3 separate regions of the Homo sapiens genome follow, and regions 2 and 3 are each linked to region 1. Evidence: promoter capture Hi-C in human tissues and cell types (Jung and others, 2019). All regions are on one chromosome and are shown on one strand. Each heading gives the region's core, a stretch centred on a gene start or on the middle of the fragment in contact. The rest is flanking DNA. Distances are from core to core; before and after follow the strand shown.

Region 1 (2,953 bases), core at 304-2,803:
TGGGGTAGCTGCCTGCTACTTCTCCCCTTGTGTGTGGCATGTGGTCTGAGGTCTAAGATAAAGGGAGGGAGTCAGGCTCTGCTGATGCCACAAAGGACCTAAGCAGGCAGATTCACCTCCTGCTTTTGGTCTCTTAATTCCTCTCTAGATGAAGCAAGAACAAGTCTGTCTTCCCATCTAGGGCAGGGTTGCTCTGTGCGAGGCTGATGGTGCACGCTGCTGGGATATTGGCACTTCTCAGGCATTTTATTAGCTCCTGTTTACAGAGACACTGCCTGAATTCCTTCTGCCACTCATCCCACACCGCCTATGCTGGTGGTTAACAGTGCCATTTTAAAATCTCAAGCAGGAGGAGACAACATAATTGTCTCATGTTTTAAGCTTTTGGAATGTTGTTCTTTTTCAGAGTTGTGAAGACGGAGTGGATACAGGTCAACTTGATTCTGCTTTTCTCTATCAATGGCCTGCAAATATTAAATATGCAAAACATAGGCTGCTCTGTCCATATCTCCTTCTCCCCAGTTCTCACCACATGACGTTGATTTCTGCTCAGGACTGGAAAGAAGTGATTGCTTTAGATTTGCTTTTCTTTTACCAACTGGAGAAATGCCTTACCGTGTCTTGTTTAAATGTGGCTTTTCACACAGTTCCAGCTTTTGGGGTTGGGGAGGGGCACAAATAATCTGTGTGGTAGGCAGTTTTATTGTTCAGAAAAGAAGAAAACAGACCCCAATGTTTGGAATGCCAACGATTTAGGAAGTTTCTAGCAGGTCTGCTACTTGTTCCAACCACTAGGTTTGATCCCAGAAAAGACTCACATGCGTTTTGGCCATGAGAAGGAGGGGTTCCCTGCAGGCCAAAGGAAGGGTCAGTAGAAGTTGAGGGTGGTGTGTTGTGCCCCTCTAGATTCCAAACTTCCCTTTGCTGCCTATCTGATGACCAGGTGAAAGCTGGGTTTATTCTGCATGGGAAGGTTCTGTGGGTTGGTGTTCATCAGGGAAAATAACCAGGACAGACTTCATTGGCCAAGGGTTTGCCCATGTTTTGAGAATTAAAACTTGTTTACTTGAGAGTTAGAGTCATTTGGTCAGCTGTTTATATTCCATTTTTAATTATTTTTGTGCTCGCTGTTTTGTTCTTTTGGTCTTTGACAGATGAGCAAAAATTCTTTTTAATAACTTTTAAAAAGCTATCCCAGTGCTGACCAGGGAGGAAAAAGTGATCAAATTGTCTAATAAGGAAACATTGTACATTTCAGTTTTTATTTGCTTAGTACTAATTCTATTTTCTCCTCCCACCTTTTTTTTCTAAATGTATAACAACAAAGGGGGAGATAATTTTTGTTTTTTCCAAAATGCTTTCAGGGAAATCCCTTTTAAACCTATGGATTTTAGTCCAATGAGGAATCCTCTTCCTTTGGTCTAAATTTTGCATATCGTCTGTTTCTTACAGGGCTTCCGTATTGTCTCAGGCTCCACTGGAAATGCAGCAAGGATTCCTAGCACATCCCAGTTGCCATAGCAACAGCAGTCTTTCCCATAATGAGCTGCATCATCTGAACTGATGTCACAGCATCATGCAGCAGGTCAAACAAGGCATCTCCTAGTATTGCATCCTACAGATGTGCTGTAAACATCAAAAGAAGACGGTGGGATCAGGAGATGGTGAGTGTTAAATGTCTGGGCCTTAATTGCACGGCTGTTTTGTTGGTTAGTCGGTGTCTGCTAAGGCGGAGATTGGGGGATGTTGTCTCTGCTTAAAATGGACTGGGGAAAGAAGGGCTGTTTTACCTAAATCGTTTTTCAGGCTGCCGGGTTAAGACAAAGGCCTGTAAGAGTCATATAGGAATTAAAATATGTAGAATTATTCTTGCTCCAGCTCTGTCTGTTATTTTTAAGTGTTCTTACAGAATTTTTCATAAACATAAGATGATTTTTCAATTGCAAAACCCCAGATAAGCTTTAAAATGAGTAGTTAACAGTATTTAAGCATTGTAAAAATATAGATTTCTTTTTGGGAGGCAGAGCTAATTGGCCCCCTCTTTGCTCTTGTGAATTATGAAATATTCAGTGATTTGCAGTATGAAATTCATTATTTACCTCGGTTGGGTTTCAGTTTCTTCATGGCAAGGAACAAATGCTGAATAAGCATTTGACATAACCCTGATGTGAAAGGGGATCTCTTGCATATTCAAGACAGAATTTATTAAAAGCATAAAAACCTAAACCAAATGAAATTATTTGAGCCTTTTGATCTATATGGTAGTTCTTCAACCCATGTCCTTCAGAGTTAGTTGAAAGACTGCCACATATTTTTCCATCTCTAGCTAGTCTCTGAAATAGCTGGAGTTGTTTGCAGGCTGACTTGTAACTGAGAAAGGAACAAGTCTCCTCTCTGCGGCAGTTGCAGTGAAGGGTAACCCTGGGAGAGCCTCTGAAGTGGCAGTGGTGTTGCCATCCCTTGCTTAACTTTAACAAAAATCTGGGTATGATGAATAAATATCAGGGTCCTCAGTGGTTGTAGGGATTACAGACCTCTGGACTCAGTCATAACCTCAACTCAATTCCAAAACTCTAAACACGTATCATTTTCATTTCAACTCCTAGCTCTGTTTTTAGGCATCTTTATTATTATTATTATTTTCTAAAAAATTAGTCTGACAGTGTCAGATAAGGAGCAGAATGTTGCCTTTTGTTTTGGGAAATGAAATGGATTTCCCTGGTACAGCTGATTGCTACTAGGGGAGAGAAAGGAGGAGGCACATGTCAGTTCAATTGATCAATATGTCCACTTAGAATCAGGGAGTGGTCTTGTGGCTTAATGCTGCCAAATTGATAGTTTTTACTCAAAAAGTCTTACACGAAAGAATGGCAACCATTGAATTCCTCTTCTTTTAGTCTGTTTATTGGGGCTAAAGAGATATATCATGGAAAGCAGGAAAAGCAATACCTTT
Region 2 (2,700 bases), core at 86-2,585, 150 kb after region 1:
CATAGGGATTGCTGCAAGAGAAAGTGAAGCATTTATAGCAGGATGCCAAGCAAGGAGAATCAGCAGCTCACACTTAAGACCCAGCCTCCACAGTGGCTTACAAGTAAGGCCTTTTAAAGGTGAGGAGGCAGAGGTTATAGGCAAAGTCATCAATCAATACACAGAGGTTATACATTGGTTTGGCCTAAAGAGGTGGGATATCTTAAAGCGGGGTCTTACAAGTCATAGATAGATTCAAAGGTTTCCTGATTTGCAATTGGTTAAGGAGATGAAGCTTTATCTAAAAATTTGTGATCAGCAGAAAAGAAAGTTAGCTCTGGCTCATGGGTATGACCTCTTCCAGGCTCCTCAGGAAGAAATTTAGAACAAAGAACAGCAGTCAGAGTTCAGTCCTCAGTTCCCTTTTATCTGAGGTCTACATGCCAGTGGATCCATTTGGAAGGGGTCTGGGTTTCTGAAAAACAACTCACATTAAGATGTTATCTTTAATTTCTACAGGGAACATCTCATGACCCTAACTTCCTTGGCTATTGTTTTAAGCTACTGCTACCTTCTTGCTTACCAAGTTGCTCATTTACTTCTCAGGGCTAGCTAGGTGCCTGGAATTTCCATTGAAGGAGCTCCAGATCTTCCTTTATTTCCATGCCTGGCGGTGTTGAAGGGGTGTGGGAGAGAGGATAGCAGGCCCTTAAGAGGGGTCCTGGGTCCATCTTATACATAGAAGCAACTGAAGAGGAAAGCTGAGATTGGGGTTCGCAGTTCTCCCAAGCAGTGGCTGAGGCTGGCAGGTTGGAGCTCAACTCTTAGGCAACTTGGCTGTTATATGTATGTGAATGTCTGTCCTAACAAATGAATTTAGTGCTGCAATTTCAAGACGGTGTTGTATCACCGACTTGCAAAAATGCCTTCTGGCATATTTATTACTTTGGTTCCAAAAATCATATTTAGCCAGATCTTTTCAGTAATGAAGCATTTTTCTTTATAGCAATCTTGCTACAGCTGAGAGGCAATTTAGAATGGAGGTTAAGAGAGTTGATTCTTGGGGCCCAACTGTCTGGGTTCAGATTCCAGCTCCATTTCTTACAGGGTTACATAAAGCAGCTCACTGTGCCTCATTTTCTTCTTCTGTAAAATGATGGTCATGATAATAGCATCTACCTCATGGAGGTGCAATGAGCCTTAAGTTAGATAGTATTTGTGAAATTGCTTAAAATGATGCCTGGCCATAGTGAGCACTTTATAAATATAGCTAGAATGATGAGAGAGTCTTAGATTCTCCTGTCAACAGGCATTGCATGGCTGGGGTTGAGCCTCCCTAGTGAATCTTTCACATAGCTTGACAGACATAGTGGGCATCAGCCCTAAATGCCAAAAGCAAACTTGAAGATTCAGAGCAAAGGCATGTGCTGAGCATTTGCCTTGTATGGAGTTTTGGGTGCTCTTATTCAGTGATTAAGAGCCAACATTAGTGAATGTTGTTGCCAAGAAGTCACACACACACACACGTACGTGTGCCCACAAGCCAAGTCCCTGTGTGATTGCCATCAGATGTGTCAGGAAGACATCATGCCCAGATCTGTGAAACTATGGAATAGATGTCAGGGAAATGCGGGTCCATCTGCTAAACAGATGACTGAATGATTAAGTGAATAGTGAAAAGGAGAATTCCAAGCTCCAACTGGAGTCAAGATGTGAAGCAGCAGCAGTAACACTAACAGCCTGTGGGTGACAAGGATCAAAGATGGGCTAAATGTCTTCCGAGGGAAAACCAAATGTGGTAAAAGACACATCAGAGGAGACCTCTACCATAAAAAAAACAAAAATTTAATTCGATGCCAGAAAGAGATAATCAGCAAGGAGAAAACTAGATTTAGCCTGAAATATAGGTCTGCTCAAGGCTCGTCAGGGGAAAGAAGGTGAACATTCAGGTTGATTTTATAGAGAGCTCCTAGAACACATAAACTACATTGTGATGACTAAATATAAAGAAAGATGATTATCACTCTTTTAGGCAGGAAATGGGGATGGATAGAGACTGGCTGTGCAGATGGAGGAAGAGAAAATGGTTAGTGTGAGATAGGAAATGGAAGAGAAGCATAAACAGGATCCCTTGGTATAATGGCCAAGAATTCCTGATTTCTACTGTGTCCCCCCTTTGACTCAGAATAAAATTAGTATCCACAAAGAAAGAGATAGTCTTAAATTAGAGGGAGCTGAAGAAAATATTTTGGGGGGAGAGGAGATGAGAATTTGACATGTTAAAGGACTCCTAGGAATATAGGGAGAATGCTTTCTGAAAAGGAATTCCATTGACTCAGGGTTTAGACTTAGGAACATGTGACTTATACCAAGTAGACATCGACTCACTTTGATATTTTCAGTATTATATACAATTGCTTTTAAAAATTACTTCTATTGTTTTCCTTGATTACATGACTGATACATATTCTTATAAAAATGAGGAGAAAATAAAAATAATCAGTGGACCACATATGACTTACACCAAGTAAACATCGACTCCTCACTTTGATTGATTTTCAGTGTTGTATACAATTGCTTTTAAAAATTACTTCTACTGTTTTCTTGATTGTGTGATTAATACATATTCTTATAAAAATGAGAAGAAAATAAAAAATAATCAGTGGACCACTAGAGATATCCACTATTACCATTTTTGATATATTTACTTTTTCTAATTAT
Region 3 (2,702 bases), core at 53-2,552, 220 kb after region 1:
TGTCTGTTTATCTAGATGTTATGGAATGAGAGTGAGTGGAGTAGGAGATAAAGGCAGGGTGAAGGTCTGAAGGGAGAGAACATTCCAAAAACAAAAACAAACAAATGAGCAGTAAAACCAGATATAAGATCCTGGAGAAGCCAGATCTGGGAAAACCTGGTTGAAAGGATCACAGGGTCCAGCAGCCACATGGAATCCAGCTTCAATTGGCTCACCACAGTTCTTCCTCCAGAAAAAAAGGAGATCTGGGGATGTAACAACCCTTCACTTTTCAGTTTTCTTTTTTCATTTCCTAAGGGGGCTAGGTTAGATCAGTCTGTTATTTAGCCAGTAGGCAAAATAGGATAGTTCCCAGGGCTCTTCTACCCCAAACAAATCATCAGTGAAAATCTTCCCATTTGTTGTATGAAATCAGAAACTGCATTAGTAATGGGACAAAAGCCTTAATTACAGAATTAAAGATTTAACAAATTAAAAATAGTTAATCGTAATGCTGTTTTTTTAGTGTGAGGGAGTTTTAAATCAAATCAGCCTATCCAGAATTATGAATAGTAAGAAAGATGGGCACTTAACAGCTCGCAAACACCAGTGGGAGCAGGACTTGGGGAGAAAAACATGCAGAGGGAGGAGCTGATGCTATCTCTAATGATAAAGTTTGGACATTCATTAATTTTCTCCTTCAAAAGGGTGGGGCCAAACAGAAACTGGTCTTGAACTATTATGTATTTGCAAATTCAGTAGTTTACCTTCCTTTGATTCATCAATATATGTTTAACACAACTGGCTTATTATAATTAATTATTCTACTTAAAAATATTTATTGAGCATCTACCATGAGTTAGCCACTGTGGTAGGTACTGGAATGATAGCAAAAAGCAAAACAGACATTCGTGGAGATTTTACTTTTACATTATTTTGATCCCAGAAATTGTATTACTTAAGGCTTTGTTTATGAAATTCTTATTAAATGAATAATATATTATTTTTAAGTTGAAAATTAAGTCAAGAATGGATTTTTTTGGCTTGCTCTTGACATTTCTGTTAAGGCTGTATACTCCAGATTAGTGAAAAATCTTCAGGTGTTTAAGAACAAGATACTATATAAAGCAATGTGGTAATTGATTAATATCCCTTTGTGTATGTCAAACCACAAGCAATAGGGACCAATACATTTGACCTTTATAGTGCCCTGTACTGCAATTTCATTTACATAGCAGCTGATGTTGTAATTGATGTTGCATTTACTGAAACCATTGCCATTGTCTGTTTCAGGGCCGGCTTGATTCTCTAACAGAAGTGGATGACTCAGGACAATTAACCATCAAATGTTCTCAAAATTACTTGTCTCTGGATTGTGGCATTACTGCATTCGAACTGTCTGACTACAGTCCAAGTGAGGATTTGCTCAGTGGGCTAGGTGACATGACCTCTAGCCAAGTCAAAACCAAACCCTTTGACTCTTGGAGCTACAGTGAGATGGAAAAGGAGTTTCCTGAGCTTATCCGAAGTGTTGGTTTACTTACGGTAGCTGCTGACTCTATCTCTACCAATGGCAGTGAAGCAGTTACTGAGGAGGTATCTCAAGTATCTCTCTCAGTAGACGACAAAGGTGGATGTGAGGAAGACAATGCTTCTGCAGTCGAAGAGCAACCAGGCTTAACACTGGGGGTGTCATCATCTTCAGGAGAAGCTCTGACAAATGCTGCTCAACCCTCCTCTGAGACTGTGCAGCAAGAATCCAGTTCCTCCTCCCATCATGATGCAAAGAATCAGCAGCCTGTTCCTTGTGAAAATGCAACCCCCAAACGAACCATCAGAGATTGCTTTAATTATAACGAGGACTCTCCCACGCAGCCTACATTGCCAAAAAGAGGACTTTTTCTTAAAGAGGAAACTTTTAAGAATGATCTGAAAGGCAATGGTGGAAAGAGGCAAATGGTTGATCTAAAGCCTGAGATGAGCAGAAGCACCCCTTCGCTAGTAGATCCTCCTGACAGATCCAAACTTTGCCTGGTATTGCAGTCTTCTTACCCCAACAGCCCTTCTGCTGCCAGCCAGTCTTATGAGTGTTTACACAAGGTGGGGAATGGGAACCTTGAAAACACAGTCAAATTTCACATTAAAGAAATTTCTTCCAGCCTGGGAAGGCTTAACGACTGCTATAAAGAGAAATCTCGACTTAAAAAGCCACACAAGACCTCAGAAGAGGTGCCTCCATGCCGAACACCTAAACGGGGGACTGGTTCAGGCAAACAAGCTAAAAATACAAAGAGCTCAGCAGTGCCAAATGGAGAGCTTTCTTATACTTCCAAGGCCATAGAGGGGCCACAAACAAATTCTGCTTCCACATCCTCACTTGAGCCTTGTAATCAGAGAAGTTGGAATGCCAAATTGCAATTGCAGTCAGAAACATCCAGTTCACCAGCTTTTACTCAGAGCAGTGAATCCTCTGTTGGCTCAGACAACATCATGTCTCCGGTGCCACTTCTTTCAAAACACAAAAGCAAAAAAGGTCAAGCCTCCTCTCCAAGTCACGTCACTAGGAATGGTGAGGTTGTGGAGGCCTGGTATGGCTCTGATGAATACCTAGCACTGCCCTCTCACCTTAAGCAGACAGAAGTATTGGCTTTGAAGTTGGAAAACCTAACAAAGCTTCTGCCTCAGAAACCCAGAGGAGAAACCATCCAGAATATTGATGACTG

Evidence for each region. Contacts are between HindIII fragments. The study calls those that stand out against the background at their distance.
Region 2: a fragment that was not itself captured here is called in contact with the fragment with the promoter of AKAP6 in region 1 in 1 of the 25 tissues and cell types used here (hippocampus).
Region 3: a contact is called between a fragment that was not itself captured here and the fragment with the promoter of AKAP6 in region 1, in 2 of the 25 tissues and cell types used here (dorsolateral prefrontal cortex and hippocampus).

Annotation. Positions count from the first base shown.
Region 1 is chr14:32,327,745-32,330,697 of GRCh38, forward strand. It overlaps AKAP6 (A-kinase anchoring protein 6), which reads left to right and starts at 1,554. Exons shown (of 14, transcript NM_004274.5): 1 at 1,554-1,664. The HindIII fragment of the contact is 5,497 bases long and covers 1-2,536 here.
Region 2 is chr14:32,476,739-32,479,438 of GRCh38, forward strand. The region is part of intron 2 of AKAP6 (A-kinase anchoring protein 6); the gene reads left to right. Among named protein-coding and RNA genes, the nearest start is that of AKAP6, 150 kb to the left of the region's middle. The HindIII fragment of the contact is 5,364 bases long and covers 1-2,700 here.
Region 3 is chr14:32,543,958-32,546,659 of GRCh38, forward strand. AKAP6 (A-kinase anchoring protein 6) reads left to right here. Exons shown (of 14, transcript NM_004274.5): 4 at 1,273-2,702. Among named protein-coding and RNA genes, the nearest start is that of AKAP6, 220 kb to the left of the region's middle. The HindIII fragment of the contact is 5,736 bases long and covers 1-2,702 here.